3 separate regions of the Homo sapiens genome follow, and all the other regions are linked to region 2. The links are contacts of gene promoters, found by promoter capture Hi-C in human tissues and cell types (Jung and others, 2019). All regions are on one chromosome and are shown on one strand. The core of a region is centred on a gene start or on the middle of the fragment in contact, and the rest is flanking DNA. Distances in the headings are between cores, read along the strand shown. Region 1 overlaps RPS6KA5 (ribosomal protein S6 kinase A5). Region 2 holds the start of TTC7B (tetratricopeptide repeat domain 7B). Region 3 overlaps TTC7B (tetratricopeptide repeat domain 7B).

The links. The method cuts DNA at HindIII sites, captures the fragments that hold promoters and counts their contacts. A contact is called where the count stands out against the background at its distance.
Region 1: a contact is called between a fragment that was not itself captured here and the fragment with the promoter of TTC7B in region 2, in 1 of the 25 tissues and cell types used here (dorsolateral prefrontal cortex).
Region 3: a fragment that was not itself captured here is called in contact with the fragment with the promoter of TTC7B in region 2 in 2 of the 25 tissues and cell types used here (dorsolateral prefrontal cortex and mesenchymal stem cells).

What each region holds. Positions count from the first base shown.
Region 1 is chr14:91,042,661-91,046,152 of GRCh38, forward strand. The region is part of intron 1 of RPS6KA5 (ribosomal protein S6 kinase A5); the gene reads right to left. Among named protein-coding and RNA genes, the nearest start is that of RPS6KA5, 16 kb to the right of the region's middle. The HindIII fragment of the contact is 6,308 bases long and covers 1-3,492 here.
Region 2 is chr14:90,815,135-90,818,316 of GRCh38, forward strand. TTC7B (tetratricopeptide repeat domain 7B) reads right to left here and starts at 1,296. Exons shown (of 20, transcript NM_001010854.2): 1 at 1,041-1,296. The coding sequence starts at 1,161. RefSeq lists a silencer at 1,290-1,469. The HindIII fragment of the contact is 18,929 bases long and covers 1-3,182 here.
Region 3 is chr14:90,648,722-90,652,300 of GRCh38, forward strand. All of the region lies in intron 13 of TTC7B (tetratricopeptide repeat domain 7B), which reads right to left. It overlaps TTC7B-AS1 (TTC7B antisense RNA 1), which reads left to right. Exons shown (of 5, transcript NR_110134.1): 5 at 1-170. Among named protein-coding and RNA genes, the nearest start is that of TTC7B-AS1, 7.9 kb to the left of the region's middle. The HindIII fragment of the contact is 3,294 bases long and covers 1-3,055 here.

The DNA.
Region 1 (3,492 bases), core at 382-2,881, 230 kb after region 2:
ACCAAATCTGCAAATGGACCTGTATCCTCTACCTCTTCCTTCCCATTAAATAATAAAAGCAAGTCTTTTATCGGACCTCCTAACCCCCCAGGTGCACAACATCCCATCCCCCTTCTCAGGACCATGACACCATCGTCTATCCCATCTTGTACAGTTTTAATAGCTATGAAACTGTAGTACTAGGCTAGGTCCAGCCTAGTAATACTTAAGCACGCTCTACCATCACTCATCTTAAAACAAGGACACAACAAATAAACCCTTCCTGAACCCCATATAGCTCTCTGGCTAAGTCCCTCTCTTTAATATCCTCCAGAACCAAGTCTCTCAAAAGTTATCTTCACCTGCATTCACTCCTCAATCCATTCCAATCCGGCTTCTCCCACCAAATCTCCACCAAAATTGTTCTTGATGAGGCCATTAGGTAGTCAGTCAAATTGATCCCCTGCCACCCCCTAAAGCATCTTTTCTCCTTAGCTTCCAAACACCACAACTTTCCTAGGTTTTCTCCTGGTTTTTCTTCTGGCTGTTCCTCCTCTGTATCATTTCTTAGCAACTCTTTTTCTATCGATTCCTTTAATTTTGGGAGTTTTTCAGGACTCAATTCTGAGTCTTCTTCCTCTCCACTCTAAAATCTCTCCTAAGATGATCTAACCTACTACCTTGGCTTTAAATGTCATCTAATGGTCAATGATGCTAGGATTTTAATCTGCAACCCAGACCTCTTTTACAAGCTCCTGACCCATATCCTACTGATCCCACTAAGCACAGTGCTTTAGATGGGCCTTGTGGCCAAACTGCTTCAGTTTCACAACCGATTCTTCTACTTACTTCTTGAGTAACCCTGAACAAGCCGGTGAGCACACTAAGACTCAGTTTTCCTATACGTAGATTGGAAGAAGAATAATAATAATTCTCACTTCACTGGGTTGCTGTTTAGGTTAAATGAGTTGATGAAAGCACCTACTATCTAGCACATTATCTATGATTACTTATACCATAGATGTCCATCAGAATATGTCAAAGGCATCTCAAACTTACTTTGATAGGTACAAAACTGGATCCTATCTTTTCTGCCCACCCCGATACGCATTTCCCCTGGTTCACTATCTTCTGTGACTTCTAAGGAGGAATTCTTAGATGACCCCAATGACCCTAGCCTTTGTATAATCTCCTCCCCTTGAGTGAGTGAATATCACGAAATCACACACTTGTGATAAAGGGATTTTGCAGATGTAATTATGGTCCTAAATCAACTGACCTTACGATAAGAAAATTATCCAAGTAGGCAGGACGCAGTGGCTCACGCCTGTAATACCAGCACTTTTGGCGGCCAAGGAGGGTGGATCACCTGAGGTCAGGAGTTCAAGATCAGCCTGGCCAATATGGTGAAACCCTATCTCTACTAAAAATACAAAAATTAGCTGGGCATGGTGGTGGGCACTTGTAATCCCAGCTACTTGGGAGGCTCAGGCAGGAGAATCGCTTGAACCCAGGAGGTGGAGGCTGCAGTGAGTCGAGATCGCGCCATTGCACTCTGGCCTGGGCAACAAGAGTAAAACGAAAGAGAGAAAGAGATGGGGGAGAGAGGGGGAGAGAGAGAGGGAGAGAGAGAGAAAGAAAGAGAGAGAGAGAGAAAGAGAGAGAAAGAGAGAGAGAGAAAGAGAGAGAGAAAGATAGACAAAGAAAGAAAGAAAGAAAGAAAGAGAAAGAAAGAAGGAAAGAAAGAAAGAAGGAAAGAAAGAAAGAAAGAAAGAAAGAAAGAAAGAAAGAAAGAAAGAAAGAAAGAAAATTACCCAAGTAGGCCTAACCTAATTACATGAGTCCCTTTAAATCCGTACCTAGAGGTCAGACAGAAGGGGGTTTAGAAGTCAGAAAGTTAAAGTATGGAAAGGATTTGACACACTTTTACTGGATTAAAGATTGAAGACCCAGGCTGGGTGCGGTGGCTCACGCCTGTAATTCCAGCACTTTTGGAGGCCGAGGCGGGTGAATCACGAGGTCAGCAGTTCGAACCAGCCTGGCCAACATGGTGAAACCCCGTCTGTACTAAAACTATAAAAATTAGCCAGGTGTGGTGGCAGGCACCTGTAATCCCAGCTACTCGGGAAGCTGAGGCAGGAGAATCGCTTGAACTCAGGAGGCAGAGGTTGCAGTGAGCCGAGACCGCACCATTGCACTCCAGCCTGGGCAACAGAGCGAGACGTGTCAAAAAAAAAAAAAAGAAAAAAAAAGGTGGAAGAGACAAATGAGAAGAATGAAGATAACCCCCAGCTAACAGCCAGCAAGGAAACTGGAACCTTGGGGAACAAATACAGGAACTGAATTCTACCAACAAAAATGAGTTTGGAAGTAGATTTTTACCCACAGCCTCCAGACAAGAACTCAGTCTGGCTAACACAATAATTTAGGTCTCATAAGGATTTATAATCTACTAAACTGAGAGCTAATAAATGGATGCTATTACAAGCCACTACATTTGTGGTAATTTGTTATGCAGCAATAGAAAATAATTACATCATTTCAATAAACAGCATCTTCAAACACACATTTGTTCCAGCCACAAAACCCCATGTCAATACAATACCAAGTTCTGCTGATTCTTTTTTTTTTTTTTTTTTGAGATGGAGTCTTGCTCAGTCACCCAGGCTGGAGTGCAATCAACGGCGTGATCTTGGCTCACTGCAACCTCTGTGTCCCAGGTTCAAGCAATTCTCCCACTCAGCCTCCTGAGTAACTGGGATTACAGGCACCTGCCATCATGCCTGGCTAATTTTTGTATTTTTAGTAGAGATGGGGTTTCGCCGTGTTGGCCAGGCTGGTCTCGAATCTCTGACCTCAGGTGATCTGCCTGCCTTGGCCTCCCAAAGTGCTGGGATTGCAGGCATGAGCCACCGCGCCTGGCCTTTGCTGATTCTTATTTCCTAAGTGAATCTCAAACACATTCACAATTGTTAATCTCAATTGTTACCTATTCTAAACCTTTATATTCCATTTGAATTTCCACAGTAGTTTCCTACCTGGTTTCCCTTCATATAATCTCTATACCCACTCTCCTCACAGAAATAGGAGTCATCTTGTTACAAAGCAAAACTAATCTCATCATTCTTCAACTGGAAATCTTTCAATGGCTTCACATGACACTCAATGTCTAAACTCTAGAAACCCCTGCATGAAATGGCCCTGGCTCCCTTCTCAGCCCCATTTCCTGTGACTCTCCTGCTTGAATGTCACACTCAAGCCAGACACCTTCCTTCCAGTAACTCCAGTGTGCCAAGCCATTTCCCATTGTGTTGGAAGACCATCTGTGTTGCTTCCTTTGATAGAAAGGCTTTGTTTCCCCGCTCTTCACCCCACAACAACCAGGGCCTCAGCTTCAACACGACTGCTTCCCAGAAGCTTGCCATCATCCCTTTTGGGTTCTCTCACAGAACTGTGTATTTCTTAACTGAGTTCATCATAATCGCAATCATAGGGTTAGTTATTTAGTGATTA
Region 2 (3,182 bases), core at 46-2,545:
TTCAGCCAACATGTGCTCACTGGGCCTGGGGAAGCCCAGGATGAAATGAGACAAACCCTCTGCCCTCTGGCCACGGTGTGCTGGTGCCTGCGCTTTAGGCGGGTACTAAAAGACAAGCAAATATTAAAGATACTCGCTTCCAAAACAAATAAGGCCACGTGGAGCTGTGCACTGGAATGGGATTCTGGATGCAATTTTATTTGATTGGGTACAAGAACCAATCCAGTTAAAGGGGTCATGAACCAACTCCAGGCACCAGGCTCCTACTCAGAGGCTGCCTCAGACCCCCTTCTGGCCCAGGCACCAACCCCTCACCCACCCAACTCCATCTCCCGACATTCTTCAACCACATTCCCATCTCGCTCCACAATATTCTCCCTCCAGGTCCCCCTGACTCTATTTCTCCTCTATTCCCAACCCTGACCTCTCTAGGTCGGCAGCCTTGATGCTACTTCTCCGAACGCCAGGACGCACATCCCAGCCTGCTTTCTACCACCACCCCACACACCTCGAGTCTGCGCTTCCACCCAGAACCCCTTAAACACCATATGTTTACAAACCAGATTCCCCAGGGGTCTATGTACAACACCCCATTCTCAAGACCCCATAAACACATCCTGATTCCCTGAGCACACCATACACACACTGTGGACTTCACCCATGTCCTGAGGGACCCCCTCACCCCATCACCTCCAACTTCTTGGAAGCCCCAGGCCGGCCCCTGACCTCCTGTGGTCCCAGTGGAGCAGCGGACTCGCTGAGACCCCCGGACACCCCAGACTCCGCAGAAGCCCGCCCTGCACGCTTGAACCCCAGGCGCCGGGACAGCCCCTGGCGCCCCCCCGGGCCCCCACACCGCGTGACTCCGGGGCACCCGGGCTCCCCCAGGCCCCGGTCCCGCGCACATCCCCTGGGCCGCAGCTCCCTCGCGGCCCGGCCGCGCCCCTGCCCGCGCCCCGCGCCCGGCCGCGCCTCGGGGGCCCGTTCCCGCGGAGGCCGCGGCGCCCCCCGCAGCCCAGGCCGGCGCGCCCGGAGCGTACCGTTGGCGATGAGCTTGGCCGACAGCTGCTTGACGAGCTCAGGGATCCGCTCCCACTGGCACTCGGAGCGGCAGCGCTCGATCTCCGTCTCCAGCCGCGAGCCTGCCTTCTTGGTCGCCATCGCGGCCTGGCCGGGCCCGGCCGCCCGCCCCGCAGGCCCCACCGCCGCCGCCGCGGCGCCCCCTCGCCGCCTCCCGCCGCCGCCGCGGGCTCGGGCTCCGGCTCCCGGCTCCGCGGCGTAACGGGAGCGCCGGCTGGGGAAGGGGCGGGGAGGCGGGCGGCGGCGGCGGGCGCGGCGGGGCCCCGGGCGCCGCGAGGAGCGGCCCCTGCCGGCCAGGGCCGGAGCCGCAGCACTGACCGGGGCCGGAGCCAGGGCTGGGGCAGGGGCGGGGGCTAGGGCGGGAGACAGGGGCCCGAGGGAGGAAAGGCGGGGTGGGCATGGAGGACAGGGAGAGGGACTGGGGGTGTCTGGGGCGGGGTGAAGACCGAGGGGAAGTGGGGATGGGGGTGGGGGAGCGGGGTAGGAGAGAGATCTGACCAAGGGCGGGTGAGGGGTCTGGTGGGGTAGGGGTCTGGGCAGGATGAAGGGGAGGGAGAGGATCGGGAGGGAGCTAGCGACAGCCTGGGAGCGGGTTGGATCCCCAGGAGTAGGGCCAAGAAAGGGCAGTGACCCTGGGGAAGGTCACCGCCCGGTGGGACCAGTGAGCCAGGTGTGAGGGGTGGGGGGAGGCCTGCCCGAGTTTGTCCTGCCATCTCAGGTGGCCAGCGGTTCCCTGGGGCCCGGTTGGCCTGTGCCCCTTAGCAGATGCCCCTCTGCCCCGCAGCCTTAGCCCCTACCCAGCCAGAGGTGGACGGAGACTCCTCCATCCCAGGCAAGGCACAGCACCTGCCAGGGGTGCCCTAGATGGCTGAGCGGAGCCAGGCAGGGGCTGCCACTCTCACACGCCAGCTCTCGGACCCCCTGAGGGGAAGGCACAGTCACTGGTGGGGCCTCCTGTCTTGGCCACCTAGACTGAGACCTAGGGAGGTGTCCCTCTGTGTTCTCTCAGTGAATCAACTGTCTAGTGATCACCTACTATGTGCTGGGCGCTGCTTTAGGTGCCAGAGATAGAATTGTGAGCTAAAAAAACAAAATTCCTGGCTTGAGAGAGCTTACATTCCAGTTTGGGGGAAAAATAAGCAAAATAAAATAGTAAACTAGACTGTAAAAATGGCTATTTGAAGAAACAGGGAAGGGTTCAGTGAGGAACATAAAGAGTTGGGACAGGCGGGTGGCTCATGCCTGTAATCCCAGCTACTCAGGAGGCTGAGGCAGGATGATTGCTTGAGCCCAGAAGGTGGAGGCTGCAGTGAGCAGTGAACGCACTTCAGCCTGAGCAAGTGTTGCCATTTAAAATGGAGCAGTCAGGGATGGCCTCACGGAGGTGGCATTAGACTTGAAGAAACTAAGGGGGAGCCATGAGGATATCTCTGGGGGAGGAGTATCCCAGGCAGAGAACACCACAAGTGCGAAGGCTCTGGGGTTAGAGCACACTGGGTGGGATGGAGAAATGGCAGAGGCCAGAGGGGCTGGGTGGAGCGAAGGAGAGGGGCCGAGGCAGGAGATGAACTCTGAGAGGTTGGGGGGAGTTCTGTGTAGTGCCTGGTGGGCCATTATAAGACCTTGGCTTTTGGCTGGGCACGGTGGCTCACGCCTGTAATCCCAGCACTTTGGGAGGCCGAGGTGGGCGGATCACGAGGTCAGAAGATCGAGACCGTCCTAGCTAACATGGTGAAACCCGTCTCTACTAAAAATATTTTTAAAAATTAGCCGGGCGTGGTGGCAGGCGCCTGTAGTCCCAGCTGCTGGGGAGGCTGAGGCAGGAGAATGGTGTGAACCCGGGAGGCGGAGTTTGCAGTGAGCTGAGATGGCAGCACTGCACTCCAGCCTGGGCAACAGAGAGAGACTCCGTCTCAAAAAAAAAAAAAAAAACTTTGACTTTTACTCTGGTGACATGGAGCAGCCCTGCAGGGCTTTTCACGGAAGAGTGGCATGATCAGACCTACACTTTGGACTATCACTGTGACTGCAGTGTTGAGAATACTGCCAGGGAAATAGCTGTGGTGGTGGCAGTGTTGGATTCTGGGTCCTGCATTTGAGAG
Region 3 (3,579 bases), core at 159-2,658, 170 kb before region 2:
CATGAATTTGTACATCAAAGAATATTTTTCTTTGGTGTTTATAAAAGTGAGATTGAAAAATCATGGTTTCTCTCATAATTATTCAGGAAAAATAATACACAATTATGAAGAAATTTTTAGATTTATTTTATCTTCTTTCACAAATAATAAATTTACAGAACCCTCAAAAAGAACTTCTTAGAATTATAATTTTCTCAGTTCAATTCATATTCTTCACGAATAAATCAAGTCATGGTTGCCTCTATGCAATACCAACCAACTGAAAAGCTGGCAATGATCTGTTGAGTTGAGGGTGTACATAAAGATAGTTCTGGCTAAAGGCCCCATGCTGGCCTCATCAAATGATTTTTCTCTGTTAACCACAGCACCGTGAAAGGAACAAACCAGAAGTGCTAGAAATCTTGGTATTTCTGGAGTGCATTAGGGCAACATCTGAAGGATTTCCAACTTGGCTAATGATGCATATTCAACTGCCAAATTTCTAATGAGGCACAACTGAAACATATACATTTTAAAAACCTTATTTCTACAACTTGGCTAATGAATTCAACTGACCACTTCACCCTCTGAAGGAAATAAGGCAAATGCCAAACAAAACAAGAAAAAGCTCCCTGTGTTGATCTCAAGTAGATGCTAAAATACTTGCTTCCCGTGGAGCAACTTCAGCAGCTAAGCTTCCTGTGGGAAAGCCCCTTTGGTATGCCACAGGCAACTCGCCGGACAGAAATCCTCAGGCCAGGCAGATGAGAGAGAGGACATTAGTGATCAGAAAAATTGCAAGCCTTCTGAACTCTGTAAATGAATCTAAAGCAGCCTCATAAACTCCGTGCCCATAAACTGAACACCTGGCTAGACTGCTCAGAAATACCTAAAAGACCTAAAAATGTCACCACAAGGATGCTCACAAAATGCTTCCCTTATCAAAGCACCTCCACATAATTAATTCAGTTTCTCTCCCATGAAGAAGAACCCACTCATCCTTTTATCCACTTACCCACCCATCCACCCAGCCAACCACCCACCCATCCACCTATCCATCCATCCACCATCCAACCATCCACCTACCCATCCATCCACCATCCACCCATCCACATTATGCAATATCTATAATGTGATGCCAGGCCCTATGCTAACTTCTGGGGAGCATGGAGATGAATCATGCTAGTGCCTTTCCTTGATGAGCTCCCACCCCCGCCCCAGAGGGAGAGACCCAGAATGACCATCATCATCGTGCAGTGGGAGCAGTGCCCAGAGATAGGCATGCTGGGCTGCTACTGGAAAGCATCGGATGGGCTTCCCAGATCACCTGGCTAGAACCCAAGGATGTTGTGGCATCTAACCCAGGGCTCTCTTAGATTCCATTTCCAACATTCTCTAGAGCTGAACCAAGAATATAGAGAAGGCTGATCAATGCTGACCCTAGTCCATAAGACACATATCTTGTAACAATAGTAACTACAATTTGTGAAGTTATCGACTATTACGCTTCTTGTCCAAGAACAGCCAGCAAATGAGAGAAAGCCAGAACCTTGCTGCCTTGTTTAGCCAATTCTCCTTGAATTTCCCTTCAGTCCTGATTACAGGGGCCATGGGATTCGTGCATTAAGTTTTTTAAAAAGTGCAAACCCTGGTTAAATCTATTGCTCAGGAATCTCTCGTTAGTTACTCACACAGGGTGACCAACTTGTCCTGGTTTGTCCAGGATGTTCCTGATTTTAGCACTGCAAGTCCCATGTTCTGGGAAAACGCTCAGTCCTCAAGAGATTGGGATGGCTGATCACCCTATATGCACACATCATACCACACTTAAACTCAAGCTAGGACAGAAAGGGGAAAGCAAAGCAAGATCGTGTACCCTGTGCCACAATGAGTGATAAACAAACACCACCATGCCACCCCTGCCTCCTGGAGCACCAGGCTTTATGCATACTGTGGGCCATGCAATGAAAGGTGCTCTCAACTGTTTTCAGGATGGCTTTTCTCAGTAGGATGTGAGAGCCTGCAGAAGAAGCAAGTCATATCAATTCAGCATCTTCAGAAGCTTTGCAAACAATATTATGTTCTTCTTCACTATACTTTAGTACAGGGCAAATGAATTGGTTCAGCTGCCTGGGTTGAGCTTATGAGTGTAGGAACAGGTGAGGGTCTCACATTCAGATGCAGCCACCCAACCTGGATGTCTTCAAAAATCACCTCTTTGGATCCACTAGAGAACAAATATGTCTGAATTCTGGCAGTCATAATTAAGAGTTAACTTTCTTGTGCTATATCTGCAACCCCATCCCTTCCTGAATTGTGTTTTCTTTTTAAACAAAAAATGCAAAACATTAGTATAAACAGAATTGTGGGGAGAATATTTAAAACAAATAGTAGAGAAAGTACTTCTCATCAAAGTAGTTTTAAATTATCCATTTACATTTAAGAAGTAATACAAATCATTTTCACTTACTTAAAATCTTTCCCTTAAAGATTTTTGTTAGGACTGCAATTCACTAGAATAGTCCTAGTTAATGTGTACTTGAAATAAAATGAAAAACATTCTATATTTCACACAAATTCTAATTTAGGTTAGCCTTCTGCAATATCATCAGTTAGGTTAGCGGGATTTTATTACTCTTTATTCCCATATGAACTAATATTTTAAAAATCTCTTCGAATTTAAACTTAAGCAAAAGATGAACAAAAAAGAATTCAGGCCAATGGAGCAGCTGTTATATAACATGAAGTTATACTGGCAGCTCAAGGCAGACCACCACTGTGGCTGTTTTTAGAGAGCCAGTAAGATGTGCTGATTTAAGAAAAGTGAAACAGATGTAATGACCACTTTCTTAAGCATCCATGTGTGGGTTTTACAAACTAGGACTGGAGAATTTAAAACTCCAAATCATTTGAAATGGAAATGCTTTCCACACTCCGTGCTGAGGAACATCAACAAAAGCTTAGCACAGAGACAGGAGATCTGTTTGCAGATGTCAGTTGGTACTTTTTGTCAATACCCAGACTGGGGCTGGCAACCTGAAGTAGCTACCGGCAAGCCTGCTAGGAAACAGAAATGAGACGGAAGAGTTTCAGACTCACTGAAACCACTGATCATGATTTCATGAAAAAAGGCATACGGACACCATGATAAATCAGTAGGCAGCCCCAGTTCTAAGGAAAGAGTCTAACGAAGCTTGTCAGGTATTGGGAAGGCCTCATGAAATATTCGTAACTAAGTTTCTAATACAGTTCCAAGAAATCAGTGTAACTCAGATATATTTAAAGTGACAGGATCAATACCCATGCTGGATTTCACATCATGGGGCTATGCTTCCAGATGATTTCATTTTTGTGATTATACCTGTAACAAGAATAAAATGAGGGCAGTGTAGTATGGTGGGGCAGGAGAAACTGTGTTAGAGCCAGGAGACCCTGACTGCATACTGACTTCAACAGCTGCGGGACCGGCAGCTCCTGTAACTCCTGCGCCTCAGTCCCTGACCTGCAAGGGACATACTGCCTGTCCGTCTTCCTCACTTGTGTGTGGTAAGCAACAAATTAAATAAGGGATGTGAAGGCACGCTGTGACACTCGAGCATT